Linked DNA regions of Homo sapiens: regions 1, 3 and 4 are each linked to region 2. Evidence: promoter capture Hi-C in 16 types of primary human blood cells and fetal thymus (Javierre and others, 2016). All regions are on one chromosome and are shown on one strand. Each heading gives the region's core, a stretch centred on a gene start or on the middle of the fragment in contact. The rest is flanking DNA. Distances are from core to core; before and after follow the strand shown. Region 1 has its middle 59 kb from the start of STAM2. Region 2 holds the start of FMNL2 (formin like 2). Region 3 has its middle 37 kb from the start of STAM2. Region 4 has its middle 77 kb from the start of STAM2.

Region 1 (3,455 bases), core at 104-2,603, 100 kb before region 2:
CTACTCTAATAGAGTTTCCATCTATAGCCAGATTGACTTTCCCACCTTACTTTCTGCTTTTCAGCCACACCAGCTTTCTTTCAATTCCTCCAATGTTCTCCCATGCTCCCTCCATCTGCAGAACATCATTGTTTACTTCAAGGTTCAAGTAATATCAATGAAAATACAGGCAAGGCTTCTGTTCTGAATGGTGCTTACTTCTAGTGGAGCAGGAGAAGACATACAAAAGACAAACACAAAAATAAATATGCAAGACAAGTATCAGATAGTGATCACTGTAAATTACTATGCTGAGAATATATTGAAGCTGATATAAGAGAAAATGATTGGCTGGGCGCGGTGGCTCACGCCTGTAATCCCAGCACTTTGGGAGGCCAATGCTGGCGGATCACGAGGTCAGGAGATTGAGACCATCCTGGCTAACACGGTGAAACCCTGTCTCTACTAAAAATACAAAAAATTAGCCGGGCGTGGTGGCAGGCGCCGGTAATCCCAGCTACTTGGGAGGCTGAGGCAGGAGAATGGTGTGAACCCGGGAGGCGGAGCTTGCAGTGAGCCGAGATCGCGCCACTGCACTCAAGCCTGGGCGACAGAGTGAGACTATGTCTCAAAAAAAAAAAAAAAAAAAAAGGAAAATGATTAACTGGCTCCTTATTAAGTTGGCAGAGGTGGGATTTCTTATAATTTGTTATAATACCTTATGAAAAAGTAGCCAGCCATGCAGAGATGATGGGGAAGAGCATTCAGACAAAGGGAACAGAAAATGCAGACTCTCATATGGGAATAAGCTTGGCTTGCTGGACCTGTGTAATAGGTGGATGTGGTGAGATCGAGGAAATGCTTCTATATGCTGTTCTTTCTGTCTGGAATGTATGTTTCCCCTCCTTTACACCCACTTTACTCCTACACTTTTCCCTTTTGCTCTGCTTATTCCTACTCATTCTTTGATCGCACTTCCACAGGGAATTCTTTCCTGACTCTGCAGACTTGATCAGTCCCCTCATGTGCATGTATTATGCATTTTCCTTCATAAAATACATCACAATTGTAGTTTAGTAACATCAGTCTCTTTGGTGATTTGATTCATTTTTCTATCTCCTTCATGAAAACTTGCTCCATGAGGGTCTGGACCAATCTCCTTGCTCAATATGGTTTTTCTGGTTTTTAACTTGATAAGTATTTGTTAAAGTGGGATTGTTAGGTCAAAGGTATGTGCCTTTTAAATTTCAATAGATATTGCCAAATTACTTTCTCCCAAATGTGTACTGCTTTACATTTCCATTAATCATTTATGAAAACACTCATTTCCTCTCATTCCCACCAGTCCTGTACATTGGCATTCTGTTTGATTTCACCACTTTAGTAAATCATCATTTGCATTTTTTCTTCTTGAGCACCTACATTTTGGAAAAATTTAATTATATTAGCTCAGGTTCATACCAGACATTTTAGGCCTAAATTAAATGTGTTCATTTGGGGAATGCTTTCCTCCTATCTAACTCTCCAGTTTGCATGTGACATACTGAATACTCCTTGTTTGGAAATTTCTGTACTGTAAACTATATGCTACTTTGGCAGTCATGCTCTATACAGCTAGGAGAGGTTAGGTGCCAGTGAAAGACAGGTGGGTTCTGGGCATCCAAATGAGAAGGATGCAATAAATTAAAAGGAGAATCAGAGAAAGGGATGAGTCAGAGTTAGGAATGAGCAGAGTCTTGTAAGACTGGAGCCAAGGTAGGATCTGATGGTATAAAAGATCTTGAGCAAAGTGTTCTGGAGATCTTGATAGCACCTTAAGAACTTTGTAGGGCCCTTATTTCTTCAGTGCCTAGGAGAATGTAGAGCACAGACATAAGATGGAATTAGAAAGAGAAAGTAGATTTGTTGGGCAGTAAGACAATATAGAACCCAGATCTGAAAAGCTTGGATTGAGGAAATTGGGCAAGTAAATCTAATACCAAGGACCACTAAGATCTTGCCCATTTGGACAAACTTGGACCTAGATATTCATAAATGTACCCTAGTAGATCCTCAGTCTTGAATAAGGTGGTGTTCTTGCAAAGAAATAGTACATTCTCTTTTAAGAAGGGACCTGGGAGGCATTGGGGGAAGGGTTCTGTTTTTAGCATCTTAGCCCATGAGTACAAAGCCATAGGGCCGTGGGTGGTGACGGTAGGAGATGTCAGCAAAGGTAGTCATTGCTGGGGACTTGGGCATAAGGCATGCACAATCATGGTTGTACTTATGGTCATAAGAAATAGAGATCTCAGATGCTGGAAAAGGAACCCAGAGCTGCAACAGTAGTAATTGAGTCTCTAGAACCCTAGGCTGGTAATGAACTTAATAATATTAAGTCCTAACAGACTGGGGGCAGGGAAGAAGTAGAGGGGGGCAGGATTTTTTTTTTTTAATTTGCTTAAGAACCGAGACAAGGCCTAAGCAAATTGTGGACCAATCTACAGAAAGCTGAGGGATGAAGGCAGAGAGAAATGAGGTGGAGTCTAACAATGGCCAAGCCTGGAGATTCATCATAGTCTGCCCCAATGTTTTCTATCACCTCAGCCTTCACTATGGGCTGGAGCAATTTTATAATTAATTTTTGCAGGATGTAACAGTTTCTTGTGCTGAGCTATGTATATGAAGAAATGATCTCCTTAGGAACATTCAGTCCTAGAATTCTGAAATGGGGTGAATGCTGAAAAGGGATAAAATGGGGCCCTCGAGTACTGAGGGTGTATGAAGTTTGGTTAGTCCTTTCATTTCCCCATTGTCTGGTGAATATTTCAGTGTACAGTTTCTAGTGCATTGTCCAGGCTGGTTTTCAATGCTTCATTTAATATGGATTTATTTTCCCTGGCAGAAGATACCTTACTATTAAATAAGTCTCACTACTAGGAAGTCAGATAGGCTCCCTACATTTTCCCATTTTGTTTCACCTCATTACTTGTAACTCATAATAGTAAATAATTCCTCTCCCAGCATGGTACTTTGAAATAAGCACTATCGTATTTTGACAAAGCTCGGTAAGATTTTCTATTGTGTTCCAGTCCCATATTTTACGTACAATCTCTCCTGATTCCAATTATTACAACCAATTTGAGTCAGCATAACATACTTCAGCCCTCACTATCTGTTCTACCTAGATGAATGTTTGTAAATGTCTCACCTTTAGAATATAATAAAAAGCCCTTTGAATATCTTTGGAATTATTGGTGTTGTAAATGAGGAAAAACATCTGTTTAACATGTTTTTATGCATGTTCAGAAATGGGAGAGTTCTAGTGAATTTTGACTCTTTAAAAAAATGCCAACAGCAATAACAACAATAAAAAATTTTTAAACATGCTCCCAGAAAATTAATTGGCCTGGCTGTCTTTTTTTTTTTTTTTTTTTTTTTTTTTTGGAGTGCAGTGGTACAATCTCAGCTCACTGCAGGGTTCAAGTGATTCTTGTGCC
Region 2 (3,926 bases), core at 443-2,942:
TTTTTATCCAGATGGGCAACCCTCTGGGTGGGCTGATTTTGTGAGTCAATCAGATCCAAAGTATATGTCTAGAGATTACAAGGAAATAAATACATTTGTGGGTCAGAAATGTTTCACCTGGTCCGAACTGCTTTCTTTCTCTCTCATTTTCATTAGTTTGGAGTGTGTGTGTATCTAAACCGCCCTGCTTTTCTCTCAGATCAGTAACACATTTGCTATTAACTTTGATACAACACTGCTTTAGAAATACAGGTTACAGTTATTCAGAATTTTAAGTTGAATTTATTTATACTGTCTCCATTCTTTAAAGACTAGAAGTGGTTTAATAGAACATACATGATGTATTTGTGTGTATTTGTGTCATATGCTTTTGGAAAAAGTCACTTGTCAATTCCACAAATAGTTCTTGGGCGTCTACTATGTTTAAAGTATCTTGAAGTTTATAAAGATGAATGAAATGTCCTTGATTGAATCTTGGTGTACTACCTTGTCCAGAAACACTTGCTATTTACTAAAAGGATAACAACCTTACCTGCATATCAAAATCACCTGGGGAGCTTGTTGAAAATACACCGGCCCAGGCTTCGGCTCTCAGCTTAGGGAGATTCTGATAATACGCAGAGCCCAAGGTGTGTGTAGTTTTAACAAAAAGCTTCCCAAGCGAATCTGATACACATCTAGGATTAAGAAACACTGCTTTAAACTAAGAAAGGACTAACTGCAGAAGTTCAGCCACAAGTCAACCAGATGTATGCCCTTAACATTCACATGAGCAGTTGGCTAAAGTCTCTTATAAGGCTATTTCTATTTCCGAGGTTTCAGAACGGGTAGTTATAGTCTGAAATACACCCCAGAGGACAGAGTCAGGTCCAATCTTTTCTGTAAGACACCTTGCTCAAGACTGCTGTGAAGGAATAAGAGAGCTGCAGCCAAAGATCATCCCAAAGTCTCCCAGAACACTCTATCATTATATCCATCTCACATGAAATATGGGTGTGTACATTTTTTCCTTCACTAGATTGGCAAGTATTCCAGCGCAGGGCAAATCTCTTTTTTCTCCCACCAAGGAACACAATATCCCATACATAATAGGTGTTTGACAGGTTTTTTTTTTAAATTGAATTGAATCCTTACCTAGCTCCTAGGGTCTGACTATATATACCCATAAATTATACATCTGTTTATAAAACATTTCAATCACACCAAAGAACATATATATGGAAGAAAGAACGATAAACAAGCACCCATGGACCCACCCCCCCGTTTATGAAACAGAACTTTGCCAGTGCTTTCGAAGTTCCTTACTGAACTAGATCTTTTAAAAACAGCAACGATTTTCTGAATTTTAATCAGAAGGCATGCATTCCTTCATTCATTGATTCGATTCCGTCATGGTCAGACCCGCCTACCAAGTGTCAACATGATATACACGATGTAAGTATTCCACTGTTGGGGTGAGGAGGGTCAAAAGTGACAATATGCTATCTCCAGAGACTACGGATCGCCTTTGCTGCAAATGGTCCCAACCCGGCCTGGCGCTCTAGAGCAGGCGTGGTTTCTGCGCGCGGACACTTTGGAGAGAAACTACGCGTCCCGGCAGTCCGCGGGGCGAGTGGGCGGAGCCGGGCCGGGGGCGGGGGCCGGGCGCCGGGCGAGAGGTGGCATTGTGTAGGGGAGCGCGGAGCTGCATTTGTCTGCTCCAGGTGCTAGCCAGGCAGGCGCAGCCGTGGCCGGCTAGGGCTGGAAGTGTCAGCGGCGGCCGCGGGCCCGGCAGAAGGCCGAGTAGGAGGGACCACGCGCCGGGGGCCGCGATCTCTGGCAGGGGGCGGTGTGCCAGCGGAGCACCATGCACATAGGCGCCCAGCGCCCCAACTACCCCTCCCGAGGAAAAGAGGCCGGGGCCGCGCTGGGGCGGCGGAGAGCATGAGGGAGGCCGGGGGGCGGCTCGGCTTGGAGCGCTGCTAGGGAGCGGTGCGCGCCGCACACCCGCCTGGGCGCGGCGGAGGGCGGGGAGCCGGGCAGGTCGCGCCTGCGGGCGGCAGCCGACCGCCGGGAGCTGTTCTGATTTCCGACGCGCACGCTAGGGGCCCGGAGCAGCCCCCGGCCCCGGCGCGCCGCCGACATGGGCAACGCAGGGAGCATGGATTCGCAGCAGACCGATTTCAGGGCGCACAACGTGCCTTTGAAGCTGCCGATGCCAGAGCCAGGTGAACTGGAGGAGCGATTTGCCATCGTGCTGGTAAGTGCGCGGCGGCGGTCGGGCGCGGGGACCCGGGGCCCCGGGCCGGGCGGCGCAGCTGACCCCCGCCCCTCCCCTTCACCCCGTGCCGGGAGCGAGCCTCCATTCCCGAGGGGGAGGCTCCCGCTTTCCCCTTTGTGGCCCCCCAGCACTCCTCTTCACCCCCCTGGCAGTCCCCCGCGCTCAGTCTCTCGGGGTCCCGGGATGGGGATGGGGGCTCAGGGCCGGCTGCCCAACCAGCCTCGAACCCATTGTCTGGCTGGAGAGGCACCTCACGGCGCGTGTGCCCGGGAGGTGCGGCGTGGGCGTGAAGAGAAGGTGGCGCGGGCTGGGAGGAGGAGGTGGCGAGCCGCTTAGGCTTTTTTTTTAAAAAAAACAAAACAAAACAAAACAAAACAAAACACCCTGAGCCCCTGCGGACCATCCCTCGGGCGGCCAGCCCGGGACCTGCGAAGTCCCCGGCAGATGGGGCGCATGTGGCCGGCCGCGGGCGCCGCGCCGGGCGGTGAGCGGAGGCGAACTTGGAGGGCTCACGTCGCGGCTTGGCCAAGGGGAGCTTCCCCGAAAGGGAAAGCGGAGACCCACAGCAGTGCGGCGCCCCGGCCCTTGGCGAGGAGCAGGGGCATCTGAAACCCAGGCCGGGGAGAACCTCAGCGCGTTCCCTCTAGACTTAAATCTTAAACCACAAAAATGTGGAGTTTTGCGGGGACGTGTTGCGAGCTGTCCTGACTGCACGGGCGACCCCTCCCCTCCTCTTGCACGCCCAGCCAGGTCCCCCGCTCCCTCCTGCATTCCGCTTCTCCCAGCTTTCCAGCTCCTCAAATCCAGGACTCTGAAAACTCCCCTCTTTCTCCCTTTCCTGCTGGGACAGTGTCTGGGCCCCTCCCAGCCGAGGCTTGTGCTGTGAGCTGCAGAGGGTGTGGCGGCTTGCCCCAGCCAGGATCTGGACTGCTGTTGGTCCCCCAGACTACCAGTTTTAGTGTCCCAGCCTCTTCTAAGGGATGTTGGGAGGGACACACACAGGCGAGATTGGGCTCATTCCTACTCCTGACACTTGGACACTTCTCTTTTCCTAGTTGGTTACCTCTAAACTCCACAAGACTAGGCAGCAAGGGAAACTCGTGATCCGGGCAGCCAACGATTGTGCCTGCCTGCGGGTTTTCTTTTCTTCTTTTGTTTTCATGAAAACTTAGAACTTTGGCAGAGGACTCGAGTTCTAGATCAAAAATCGGTTTTCTGAGGTGTGCTCAGCTACAGGACGTTCAAATTGCCTGCCTTCAGGCCTTGAAAAAGGAATGGTTTGGTATGGGAAGTGATGTTCTGGATGGCAGGTTAGCTGTGTGCTCTTTGGGAGAACTGAGCTCTCTCTCCCGCCACCTGGAAACTCTGGTGTGGCCGTCGGGGAGACAGATGAGGTTGCTTGTGTTGCTTTGCATCTCCTGTGATCTCCCACAGCTGCTCCCACCGTTGTGCAAGATGGGACACTGAAATGAAACGGCCTAGGCATAACTCTCAAGGCGGCCTGGGTGCATACTTGACCTGCTTTTCCAGAGACAAACGTTTTTCTTCAAAACCCTCTTCCTACTAGACATATGGTTCTTACCTCCTGGCTCTGGCTTTTTTTCCTCCTGGCTCTGGCTTTTTTGTTTTTCCATCCATGCTGTGGTGCTCTGTGTGTGTGTGTGTG
Region 3 (3,668 bases), core at 400-2,899, 120 kb before region 2:
TGTCCAATGTATGAATTGTTAGTATTTTCTCCCATTCCGTGAGTTGTCTTTGCACTTTTTCTTGAGACAGGGTCTTACTGTCACCCAGGCTGGAGTTCAGTGGCACAATCACAGCTGACTGCAGCCTTGACCTCCTGGGCTCAAGTGATCCTCCCACCTTAGCCTCCCAAGCATCTGGGACTACAGGCACACACCACCAAGCCCAACTAATTTTTTTTTTTTTTTTAGAGCTGGGATCTCACTATGCTGCCTGGGCTGGTCTTGAACTCCTGGGCTCAAACGATCCTCCTGCCATGGTCTCCAAAAGTGCTAGGATTACAGGTATGAATCATTGCCCTTGGCTCACTTTCTTGACAGTATCCTTTGACACACCAATGTATTTAATTTTGACAAACCTCAATTTATCTATTTTTGTTATTTTTCTTGCTCATGCCTTTAGTGTCGTATCTAAGAAAATGTTGCAGAATCCAAGGTCATGAAGATTTACTCCTATCTTCTCCTCTAAGATTAGGAGATTTTAGCTCTTAGGCCAGGCCTGGTGGCTTATGCCTTATAATCCCAGCACTTTGGGAGGCCGAGGTGGGCGGATCACCTGAGGTCGGGAGTTAGACCAGCCTGACCAACATGGTGAAATGCCATCTCTACTAAAAATACAAAATTAGCTGGGTGTGGTAGCACATGCCTGTAATCCCAGCTACTTGGGAGGCTGAGGCAGGAGAATTGCTTGAACCCAGGAGGCGGAGGTTGTGGTGAGCGGAGATCGTGCCATTGCACTCCAGCCTGGGCAACAAGAGCAAAACTCCGTCTCAAAAACAGAGAAGATTTTAGCTCTTACATTTTATAATTTTGACATTAATGTTTAGGTGTTTGATCCATTTTTAGTTAAGTTTTGTATAGTATGAGGTAGGAGTCGAAAATAATTCTTTTGCCTGTGGCTATACAGTTGTCCCATTGTTGTTTGTTGAAAAGACTATTTTTCTCCATTAAATTGTTTTGGGATCCTTGCAGGCAGGTAATAACTGTAAATGAGAGGGTTTAGAGTAAATTCTCAGTTCTATTCCATTGATCTCTATGTCTGTCCTTATGCCAGCATCACATTTTTTGGGGGGGGTCTTACTCTGTCACCCAGGCTGGAGTGCAGTGGTGTAATCTCAGCTCACTGCAACCTCCATCTCCTGGGTTCAAGCAATTCTCCCACCTCAGCCTCCTGAGTAGCTAGGACTACAGGTGCATACCACCATGACCACCTAATTTTTGTATTTTTTGGTAGAGGTGGGTTTCACCATGTTGGCCAGGCTGGTCACAAACTCCTGACCTCAAGTGATCCACCCCCCTCAGACTCCCAAAGTGTTAGGGTTACAGGAGTGAGCTACCATGCCTGGCCGCACGTTGTCTTGATTACTGTTGCTTTGTAGTAAGTTTTGAAATTGGGAAGTCCCCCAACTTTGTTCTTCTTAAAAGATTGTTCCAGCTATTCTGGGTCCCTTGAGTTTCCATATAAATTTTAGGGTCAGTTTGTTAATTTCCACAAAGATGCCAGCTGGATGCTGAGAGTAATTGCATTAAATCTGTAGATCGGTTTGGAGATTATTGCCATTTTTCTTAGTCCTGTTTAGTGTTGCTGTCACTGAATGCTGGGTAACTTGAAAAGAGATTTATTTGGCTTATGATTCTGGTGGATGAAAAGTTCAAGATTTGGCAACTGCATCTGGTGAGGGCCTCATGCTGCTTCAACTCATGGTAGGAAACAGAAGGGGCATAGGTATGTGCAAAGAGATCATGTGGCAAGAGACGAAGCAAAAGATAAATGGAGGAAGCCAGACTCTTTTTAACAACCTGCTTTCCTAGGAACCATTCCACTCCTGGGAGAGTGAGAATTCACTCATTCTTATGAGAGGGCATTAATCTATTCATGAGGGATCTTCCCCTGTGACCCAAACACCTCCACTAGGTCCTGCCTGCCAACACTGCACACTGGAAATCAAATTTAAACTTGAGTTTTGTCAGGATTGCCACATCCAAACCATAGCACCATCTTAACAATATTAAATCTCCTGATCCGTGAATATGGGTTGTTTTTCCACTCACTTAAATCTTCTTTAATTAATTTCAACAGTTTTGTAGGTTTCAGAATTTAAGTTTTTCACTTCTTTCATTAAATTCATTCCTAAGTATGTTATTATTTTCAATGCTATTATGATGGGATTGTTTTCTTAATTTCATTTTCAGATTGCTTACTGCAAGTTAGAAGAAATACAATTGATTTTTGCATATCGATCTTACATCCTGCAAACTTGCTGAACTCATTTATTAGGTCCAATAGTTTTTTAGTGAAAATTTTAGGACTTTCTATATACAATATCTTGTTATCTGAGAATAGATTTAGTTTTACTTCTTTTCCAATCTGCCCCGGCTAGAATCTCTAGTACAATGTTGAATAAAAGTGGCAAGAGTGGATATCCTTGCCTTGTTGCTAATCTTATGGTAAAATCATCTAGTCTTTTACCATTAAATACAATGCTAGCTGTGGATATTTCTTTTGTTTTTTTTTTTTTTTTTTGAGGCGGGGTCTTGCTCTGTGGCCCAGGTTGGAGTGCAGTGGCACCATCTTGGCTCACTGCAACCTCCGCCTCCCAGTTTCAAGCTATTCTTATGTCTCAGCCTCCCAAGTAGCTGGGATTACAGGGTGGGGGCCACCACATCTGGCTAATTTTTTTGTATTTTTCATAGAGACGGGGTTTCGCTGTGTTGTCCAGGATGGTCTTGAACTCCTGACCTCATGTGATCCACCTGCCTCCACCTCCTAAAGTGCTGGGATTACAGGCATGAGCCATTGTCCTCAGCCAGCTGTGGATTTTTCACTGATGCCCTTTGTGAGGTTAAGGAAGTTCCCTTCGGCTTGGTGCAGTGGCTCACACCTGTAATCCAAGCACTTTGGGAGGCCAAGATAAAAAGATTGCATGAGCCCAGGAGTTTGAGACCAACCTGGGCAACAAAGTGAGACCTTGTCTCTACAAATAATACAAAAGTTATCTGGGCATGGTGGCATGTGCCTATGGTCCCAGTTACTCAGGAGGCTGAGGCAGGAGGATTGCTTGAGCCCAAGCAGTCAAGGCTGCAGTGAGTTATGATTGTGCCACTGCACTCCAGCTTGGGTGACACAGTGAGACCCCATCTCAAAAAAAAAAAAAAAAAAAAAGGTTTTCTTCTATTCCCAGTTTATTAGGTTGTTTTTTTAAAATCATGAAATGGTGTTGAATTTGATAAATATTATTTCTGTATTTATTGAGATGACAATTTTTTCCTCTTTATTCTATTTATATGATATATTACATTGGCTAATTTTCATATGTTGAACCAACCTTGTATTCCTGGGATAAATTCCACTTGGTCATGGTATATAATCCTTTTTATATGCTGCTGAATACAGTTTTCTAGTTTTTACTGAAGATTTTTTTCTCTTTATTTATAAGGGATATTGGAAAGTATATTATAATTTTATATGTATAGGCCCAATGACATATTTTATACATATACTTTACATATACACATACAATTAAATATGTATTTATGCATTTTACGTATGTTTATGGGCACAACTATATAATTGCTTTTAAATCTGTTAGGTGAAGAATTTAGAAGAAAAGAACGTGTTTAATGTTTTGTGG
Region 4 (3,604 bases), core at 410-2,909, 83 kb before region 2:
CCAACATAAAGGAAAGCAGATCTGTGACTTGGAGAAAAAGACAGATTCCATGCATTATCATGTAAGCACCTTGATCCAGCCATGCCTGAAGCTAGATATACTCCTTGGCTTTAGCTATATGAACCAATAACTTCTTTTTGCTTAAACCAATTTGAAATGTATTTCTGACTCTTTTAATCAAAAGAATAACTGATACAGCTGGACCTTAGATGGCTTTTATATTCTTGGGGAGGCTTAGGTGCTGTAATTCTTAGCCTAATATAGTGGGATGAGGCAAAGATAATAACTATGAACTTTAAGTGAGAACTTCATGAAAAAGTTGAAGGGTCAGTAATGGTTAAAAAACATTTCCTTGGACCCTGATACATTTTTACATCGCATGCCAGGCTTGCTTAACTAGTCTGCCTCCTTTCCATATCTGAAAAATGGTGACAACAACACTGAAACTTTCAAACTACTCCTCCCAAAGATCAGGCAAGGAATTCTTAGCACATGTTTTAAAACAACTTCAATTCCTCAAGAGATGCAACTGTGTTCTTTATCGTATTTTCCTATGCTGCACTTCTATTCATCCCCTAGCTTGCAGCCAAGAAAAAGAACTGTTATTAAACACTTGAACATATGGCATATATCACTTTTTGGAAAATAAACTTATTCAAGAAAGAGCTTTGGAGGCCACATGTGGGCATCTCAAGATAGTGATCCAAAAGGAAGTCAGAAGCCTCAAATGAACGAAATAAGTGTTTTAGTCCAAAGACAATGATTTGGTTCTCTAGGCTTGTTTTAGTCACCTGTTTGGTACCGGGACGGAGGTCACTCTTCCAGTTGTTCACTGCAGCATCTTGCAAAGAAAAGCGTTAACAAAGAAAAGTGAGGCAAAGAGAAACAGTCAGCAGGACTCAACCGGCAACTGTGTGTGACCAGAAATGTGGGACATGAAGCAGCTTTTCTTACAGCTGTGCATGTCACATTGTCTCTTTAAACCTAAAAACTTGGAATTTCAGGAGACTTCTTTCTGTTCTTTATTCTTTTTTCCTTTCAAATGACAGATTTCTCCTTTCCTTTGTCCCTTATGATTTCCAGTCCCCACTGTGTGTCTGCCCCGCCCTTGGTTTGAGGATGTGGTGCTGTGATCCAGCCATGTGGCAGAACCACACGGTTGCTACTAAACTGCCACTCACTCCCCAGGGGAAAAGACTTAGCTATAATCCTGTAATCTTTTCTTCAAACAATGACTCCATTTCACTTGAAGTAGACAAAAATGAATGGCTTTTGTCATTTGGAATCTGAGCACATATGGATGATTTTTAAGTTAAAAAAAAAACTAACTGTAAAGATGGCAACAGTATTTTTCTGTGTTGAGGACAAATGTGATCTCATTATACTAAAAACATGTTGGAATGCTCTACTTACTCTTATTTCCTTATCCTGATGAAGCTGCAAAGAAGACTGAGCTTACTCTTGCCTCACGTTCATCAGATAAGGTAGATATTATAGGAGCTGGGATATAGGTGGAGTAGCTCTAGCCATATAGCATTTTTTAAGATCTGACAAAAAGAAGGAAGCTAAAGCTTCAGTATATGGCTGTATAAGATGATTGGCAATTCATTTTTCATTATCATAAAAAGAATACGTTTAGTAAATAAATTTAGATTCCTTTAAAAGACAGCCTGTCTAAACTTTCTTCTGTAAACTACAAGCCCAATAGCACAAACCTAGGGAAACTCACCCTGCCCTGGATAAAAGAGAAGCTTCATGGCTCAACTTTTTACTTGAATTTCACACTTATAAAGTGACCTGTCAAAGGTATAAATTGACTTTATACCTCCAGTGAGATCTTTGGTCTTTTAAGAAAAAGAAAAGGATCACCTGGTTTCTTTCCTCCATAAGTTCTTAGATAGCCAATTACCAAACCTAACAGACACTACTTCCTAAGCAATTGTAGTGTTTGTTTCCTCTTTTACCTCCCCATCTGTTCAAAGTCCTATAATTTCTCACCTGAATGACTGCAAAAGTTACCTAACTAATTTCCTTAACCAAATCTTCCGCCCTGCCATAAGATGCTTAAATTTTATCAGTGTCTCCAAGGTGCCTCCAGTGCACTGCAGAACTCAGTCTTTTGAATCTGTCCCTGCTAATCCCTCCTGCCTCAACTCTGTCACTTTTCCCATTTGATGCTCCAAGATGCCAAATCACTTGGGGATTCTCTTACTGTCCCGTGTAGGTCTTTCTTTCATTTGAACCTTTGCATATGCTGTTACCTCCTCCAGTAACCCACTCTGCCAATTCGTAGCTGGTTAAATAACTGCTCCTGGAATTTCGAAACTTAGCTCAGATACCAGACATCTTTTGTGACTTCCCATCTGCATCCAAGCAAGGAACATTTGCCTATTTGCCCCCTATGCTGTCCTCCATCATAGCACTAATATTATTATCTTTTACTTGTTTGTCTTACCTATACACCTGGGAAGAGTTGGGCCTTTCATTTCCACATTTCCATCACCTACCATGGTTCTCAACTTATAGTTGGTGCCCAAATGTTGAATGAATTAATGAACAATGTAGAATGTGGAGAACTGATTGTGGTTATATAAAGTTTAAGCATTTGGGGGGCTTTCTTTTCTTTTCTTTCTGTAGTGATGCGATCTTGGCTCACTGCAACTTCCACCTCCCAGGTTCAAGCAATTCTCGTGCCTCAGCCACCCAAATAGCTGGGATTGCATGCGTGCGCCACCACGCCTAGGTAATTTTTGTATTTGTAGTAGAAATGGGGTTTCACCATGTTGGCCAGGCTGGTCTTGAACTCCTGACCACAAGTGATCCATGCAACTTGGCCTGCCAAAGTGCTGGGATTACAGGTGTGGGCCACAGCACTTGGCAGGAGTTTGATTTTCAATTGACAATGGCTCTGACCAACTCTAGGTCCTTGTGTGAATTTATTGAGTTGGACATTTTTGGTTAGGTTGTTAGAAACTTTGAAATATATATTGAATCTCTGTTCCAGTTAACTGTAACAGCACTAAATTCTTCAACACAGAACACTGTAAGGCAAACACATAAATTCACCATAGGGAGCCAATAAAAGGTGTTAGAAACAGGAGGAAAGTTACTGATAAAATGTGACAAGGTTTTCAAACAGAGGCAATATTGTTAATTTAAATTGCAGAGACCTTATTCACACTCACCAAAATACAAAGGAAAAAGATTGCAACTCATTTTGGAATATTTGGAAGATGAAACAGTCCTTGAACTCCCTGTACCTGAGTCAGAGTACATAGTCTAGCAACACTTATCAAAATTTATGCTCTACCACTAAGGAAATTGAACTTTATATCCTAGTAAGGCTGGTTTCCTTAGTCTTTTCTAAATTCATTATTTTTAGTACAGATTCCACATCCTTACTCATGTATCCTCTGATTTAGAATATTCTATGTCCTATCTTTAGTCTAATCAACTTTAGTTCTTCTATGTTCTTTATTCTCAGCCTAAATCCTGCCTTCAAAGAAGCCTCCCCTAACTACCTGGCCCATATGAACTGTGCCTTTTCTGATTTTCTACCACACACACATAGACGCTACTCACATGGCTCCTCTTGTACCCTGAC

Evidence for each region. Contacts are between HindIII fragments. The CHiCAGO score rates a contact against its expected background, and 5 or more counts as called.
Region 1: a contact is called between a fragment that was not itself captured here and the fragment with the promoter of FMNL2 in region 2, in 4 of 17 cell types (M2 macrophages, M0 macrophages, M1 macrophages and 1 more). The highest score is 6.1, in M2 macrophages.
Region 3: a fragment that was not itself captured here is called in contact with the fragment with the promoter of FMNL2 in region 2 in 4 of 17 cell types (M2 macrophages, M1 macrophages, M0 macrophages and 1 more); the score reaches 11.3 in M2 macrophages.
Region 4: a contact is called between a fragment that was not itself captured here and the fragment with the promoter of FMNL2 in region 2, in 2 of 17 cell types (M1 macrophages and M0 macrophages). The highest score is 7.4, in M1 macrophages.

The regions. Positions count from the first base shown.
Region 1 is chr2:152,232,794-152,236,248 of GRCh38, forward strand. No RefSeq gene overlaps it. Among named protein-coding and RNA genes, the nearest start is that of STAM2, 59 kb to the left of the region's middle. The HindIII fragment of the contact is 1,134 bases long and covers 787-1,920 here.
Region 2 is chr2:152,333,482-152,337,407 of GRCh38, forward strand. It overlaps FMNL2 (formin like 2), which reads left to right and starts at 1,693. Exons shown (of 26, transcript NM_052905.4): 1 at 1,693-2,239. The coding sequence starts at 2,123. RefSeq lists silencers at 1,493-2,142, 2,653-2,752. The HindIII fragment of the contact is 3,556 bases long and covers 651-3,926 here.
Region 3 is chr2:152,211,131-152,214,798 of GRCh38, forward strand. No RefSeq gene overlaps it. Among named protein-coding and RNA genes, the nearest start is that of STAM2, 37 kb to the left of the region's middle. The HindIII fragment of the contact is 6,835 bases long and covers 1-3,668 here.
Region 4 is chr2:152,250,835-152,254,438 of GRCh38, forward strand. No RefSeq gene overlaps it. Among named protein-coding and RNA genes, the nearest start is that of STAM2, 77 kb to the left of the region's middle. The HindIII fragment of the contact is 180 bases long and covers 1,570-1,749 here.